Regions from separate parts of the Homo sapiens genome. Here region 1 is linked to region 2. Evidence: promoter capture Hi-C in 16 types of primary human blood cells and fetal thymus (Javierre and others, 2016). All regions are on one chromosome and are shown on one strand. The core of a region is centred on a gene start or on the middle of the fragment in contact, and the rest is flanking DNA. Distances in the headings are between cores, read along the strand shown. Region 1 has its middle 38 kb from the start of PDP1. Region 2 holds the start of TMEM67 (transmembrane protein 67).

Evidence for each region. Contacts are between HindIII fragments. The CHiCAGO score rates a contact against its expected background, and 5 or more counts as called.
Region 1: a fragment that was not itself captured here is called in contact with the fragment with the promoter of TMEM67 in region 2 in 1 of 17 cell types (total B cells); the score reaches 5.2 in total B cells.

What each region holds. Positions count from the first base shown.
Region 1 is chr8:93,953,912-93,956,611 of GRCh38, reverse strand. No RefSeq gene overlaps it. Among named protein-coding and RNA genes, the nearest start is that of PDP1, 38 kb to the right of the region's middle. The HindIII fragment of the contact is 5,212 bases long and covers 1-2,700 here.
Region 2 is chr8:93,753,497-93,756,196 of GRCh38, reverse strand. It overlaps TMEM67 (transmembrane protein 67), which reads right to left and starts at 1,303. Exons shown (of 28, transcript NM_153704.6): 1 at 1,060-1,303; 2 at 331-419. The coding sequence starts at 1,282. The HindIII fragment of the contact is 4,875 bases long and covers 1-2,700 here.

The sequences.
Region 1 (2,700 bases), core at 114-2,613, 200 kb before region 2:
GGCAGACTTACTCTTCGGGACAGAGGCAAATGTGACCCTGAATGGAGAATAGACTGGGTTTAGAACAAAGTTAGCAGACTCAGAGAACTTGGTTTGAACTCCCTCCCAAAGTGACCAAATAGGAATTTTGTACCCAACTTGTGTGACAGTAAGCAGCTTTCATCTTCCTTACTTTCCCGGCCATTGTAAGAGAGCTGTTGATACAACAAAGAAAAGGATGGCAATTTTGCCTCCGGGCTACAAATGCAGAGCCAGATCATCTTTACTGTGTTCCTACTCTGTGCCAGACAGAAACCAACATATAAAGAAAGGACACCCCATGTTCAAAGTCAGTGACCTCAGCTGGACATGGTGGCTCACACCTGAAATCCCAGCACTTTGGGAGGCTGAGGCGGGTGGATCACCTGAGGTTAGGAGTTTGAGACCAGCCTAGCCAACATGGTGAAACCCCCTCTCTACTAAAAATACAAAAATTATCTGGGCATGGTCATGCAAGCCTGAAATCCCAGCTACCTGGGAGCCTGAGGCAGGAGAATCACTGGAACCCGGGAAGTGGAGGTTGCAGTGAGCCGAGACAACACCACTACACTTCAGCCTGGGTGACAGAGCAAGACTCCATCTCAAAAAAAGAAAAAGAATACAAAAATTAGCCAGGCGTGGTCGCGCACGCCTGTAATCCCAGCTACTCGGGAAGCTGAGACAGGAGAATTGCTTGAACCTGGGAGGCGGAGATTGCAGTGAGCGGAGATCACACCACTGCACTCCAGCCTGGGCGACAGAGCGAGATTCCGAGATTCCGTCTCAAAACAAACAAACAAAAAACCACAAAGTCAGTGACCTCAGAACAAGCCCTGGAGCAGCCACAACAAAGTCAGGAAGCAGCTGTCCCCGTGCCTCCATGAGGGTCTTTGTGTTGCTGCCAGTAGACCAGGTTGGGGAGCTGGACATGGGAGGTGAAGGGCTGGCCTCTTTCTCAAAAAGGGATGCATTACCAAAAAACGTGCTAGAGAAAACCATAATGCAGCAATGATCAAACTCACATGCGGAGGAGGAACAGCATGAGGGGGCGTTGGCGAGGAAAGTACAGCCACTGTCCGTAGAAAGAAGATAACTTGCTAGGAACATAGCACACTTTTACAAGAATTCTTTTACAAACTCTAATTTTTAAACACGCACACCACACACAAACAGTAAGATAAAATCTGAAACCTCAGAAATTTAATGTGACTGAAATACATCTGGACAAAAATCACTTGGGTGTTGCGCTCTTCCTCCATTACCTACGCTGCTAACTGCAGAAACGTGGAAGAGAAGGGAGGGAAGGGGTGTTCATGTCAGATCAGATGCACTAGAGAGGACACAGCCAAAGGAGAAGCAGAGGTGAGAGGGTGGGAGAGGGCAAGACACTGGCATTTACAAGGCGCTGCAGAAGTGTTTCTAGCAGAGGATTTTTTTTTTTTTTTTTTGAGATGAGTCTCACTCTGTCACCCGGGCTGGAGTGCAATGGCACTATCTCGGCTTACTGCAACCTCCACCTCCTGGGTTCAAGCGATTCTCCTGCCTCAGCCTCCCAAGTAGCTGGGATTACAGGCATGCGCCACCATGCCTGGCTAATTTTTATATTTTTAGTACAGACAGGGTTTCACCATGTTGGTGAGGCTGGTCTCGAACTCCCAACCTCAGGTGATCCGCCTACCTCAGCCTCCCAAAGTGCTGGGATTACAAGTGTGAGCCACCACACCCAGCCAAGGCAGAGGATTTAAATATTAACCGTGAATTATGACTTAGAGCCTTTCAAATTTTTAGAGCTCTGAGTAAAACTGAAACGCCTGTTTGAGCAGTGCTTCTTCCAATATGAGCCATCCTGAGACTGGACCATGCAGGCTGTGACTCCATCAGTCTTGTCTAAATGAGATAATGAGGCTCTTATTGCCCTTCTGTGAGCAGGTTAAATTGAGAAAAATGAAATCTTTCCCTTTGACTATTTCAAGTACTTTCTTTACCACCCCAGCCCAATCATGTGCCAACCTCTTCATAATCTACATATTACGGTAGCAGAATACATCGTACTTATTATCACCCATTTAAAATTAAGCATTTGTATGCAAAGCAGTTTTCCAAGAATATAGTAATAAGGAATATAAAGCTGTACCCTAAGGGCTTAATTCCAAAAGAGTTTTAAAGTAGCAGTCAAAAGAGAGATACAGATCACATAGCAAATAAACCAGATGTGCATGTATATCTCATATCTTAAAAATGCTGCAGTTACGACGGGTGCAGTGGATCATGCCTGTAATCCCAACATTTTGGGAGGCTGAGGTGAGTGGATCATTTGAGGTCAGGAGTTTGAGACCAGGCTGGCCAACATGGTGAAACCCTGTGTAAAAGAGTTATTTTGTAAAAATACAAAAATTAGCCGGGCATGGTGGCTCACGCCTGTAATCCCAGCACTTTGGGAGGCCGAGGAGGGCGATGACAAGGTCAGGAGATCGGGACCATCCTGGCTAACACAGTGAAACCCCGTCTCTACAAAAAATACAAAAAATTAGCTGGGTGTGGTGGCATGTGCCTTTAGTCTCATATACTCAGGAGGCTGAGGCAGGAGAATTGCTTGAACCCGGGAGGCAGAGGTTGCAGTGAGCCAAGATCATGCCACTGCACTCTAGCCTGGGTGACAGAGCGAGACTCTGTTTCAAAAAA
Region 2 (2,700 bases), core at 54-2,553:
AATTGCACACATCCCAGACTGCTCTATATATGCCTTATTCATCTAATTTTCTTCATAACCGAGTTATTCTACGAGTAAAAACAAAAACTTAAATTTTTACAGCTTTGTGGTTTTTGGATTTCAGATTTTAAAAGAAATACATTTCTGTTTTCTCCAAGTTTGCATGAAATTTCGCTGATCTCCCAAAACTTACTCTAGTAAAAATAAAATTAGCATAGTAATTTTAAAGTCTGTGGGGAAACATTAAACATTAAATTATATTTTGAAAAATAAAGATATTTAACTTACTACTTTTTACAGGTAAGTTATTTTAAAATAAATTATGCGCACCATGTTTTCTGGGCACTTTTTACAAATAATAGCAGGTCCTCCATTATTAGAGATCATCTGAAATCCTGGTAGACATACACATGAAGTTCCTAAAAAAAAAAAAAAAAAAAAAAAAGCCAATTTTATCCTTGATAAATAAAAATAAAGTTCCCAGATAGTGAAACTTTTAATAAGTCTGAAGATCTTGAGAAGCAGTATAGTGATTAACAGCAGGATTCTGGAGGCAGTACTGCCTGGGTTCAAATCCAGAAATACACTTCTTGAGTTCCAATCGTAGTAATCCTACTCAGTTGCATGACCTTGAACAAGTTACTAAACTCTCTGCCTTGGCTTCCTCTACAATAAAATGGAGAAAAAAAATTGGTACCTACCTCACAGGGTTAGTATGAGTACAAAATTAGTTATTATACGTAGAGGTCTTACACTGGCACACAGCTGGTATTATGCTGCTACCATTTTAAGTGCAAGTATAACTAAACTATTAAACTACTTAACTGCTGCTGGAAATTTTACATTTCTACGTCACTAAACAATATACATGTATTCGGGCCAGGCGCGGTGGCTCACGCCTGTAATCCCAGCACTTTGGGAGGCGGAGGCGGGTGGATCACCTGAGGTCAGAAGTTCGAGACTAGCCTGATCAACATGGTGAAACTCCATTTACGGGGACTAGGGGCCGACCAAGGCGGGAGTGTTACTTTTGCCAGGGCCCACCGCAAACCGTCTTACCTCGGGCATCTTGCCTCTGGTTAGCTCCACAAGGAACACACGAGAGGGCGGAGATATCAAAGTACTGGTTGTTGTCGCACTTCTCCGGCTGCTGGAAAGGGAAAGAGAAGGTCTGGGCCTGTAAGAAGCGAGGGAGGAACAACAGAAGGAACGCGGTCACGGCCCGGGCGGATAAGAGGGACCAAACCGCCATTGCCACCCCAGCCCCACCGCGCGTCGCCATGGTACCGACGCTGGAAGCCTCACAGCCTCCAGCCCCCCATCAGCCTCTGCGGCGGCTTCGCTGAGCTGATTGGACAACCCAAGTCCGGGTACCGGAAGTCACTGCTCGTGTTGCTTGGTTGCTAGGTTACCAACCCTGCGCGAAGTTGGCAGGTCCAGTAAAGAATGGGTTAGAGACCGGTTAACCCTGGAGCCCAGCGATATTTTCAAACGTGTATAGAGTTCCTCTACTTACGATAGGGCTGCCCCCTCCCCGCAATAAACCCATCGTAAGTTGAAAATATCATAATTTGTCGAGTTATAGTTACATCAGAATTTATTCAGACTAGGTAATTTTCACGTTAAAGGAAACATGACTTGTAGTTTAACAATTTGATGTCAAAAAACCCCACTGACTTAAAACCCAGTGAAGGATTACTATAGCTCAAAGACTGAAAAAATAAAAAAACTTTCCTGCCAGGTTTGAGCATAGGAAATCATGTATGCGAGACAAAGTACGAAACGGAAGAAACCATGTTTGCTCATTCTGTTGCCAGCGAAATTTCACAAAGCCCCTGACTCAGTGACTGAACGCAGTCCTCCAGAAGAATGCCCTGAAGACAATAAGTAGGATAGAGCACAAGTTTTCACATCTGTTGCTTGAATCACTTCATTTTTTAAAAAGATACAGTCAGCGATCCTAGCTCTTGCCTCTTCCTGTACGTAAGATAACGTGTGACAGGATTAATGATTATGCCTCTGTAATCTATAACCAGATGTAGTCTCCAAACAAAACTTTGATGAGATTTTGCTCCAACGTAACTTCTGAGCACGTTTAATGTAACTTTTGAGCACATGCAGAACTCCATCCCTTGATGTAGAAACTGGGGGCAGAACAGCTGCTTTGGACCAGTATAACATAAACTCTTTGAAAGACTCTCCAGGGTTGCATTCCTCAGTAAGACTCCGAATAAAACTAACTTTGAGTCTTTAAAAGCCTGATTTTTTTCTTTAGTTGACATGTATATAAAATGAGATCACCTTTACACCTTTTGTGAATAAAGGAATCTAAGCCTGGTGCTGTGGCTCACACCTCTAATCCTAACATTTTGGGAGGCCACAGTGGAAGGATTGTCTGAGCCCAGGAATTCAAGACCAGCCTGGGCAACATAGTGAGACTCCACCTCTACAAATAAAATTTATTTTAATTAGCTGGGTGGGTGGCACATGCCTATGGTCCCGGTTGCTTGGAAGGCTGAGGCGGGAGAACCACTTAAGCCCAGGAGGTCAATGAGCCCAAAGGCTGCAATAAGCTATGATCGTGCCACTGCACTCCAGCCTGGATGTCAGAGACCCTATATAAAAAAAAAAAAAAATCCTGGACAAAAATATGGAAACGTTTAGAGTTAGAGACCACTTGCGAGGCTAAGGTAGAAATCT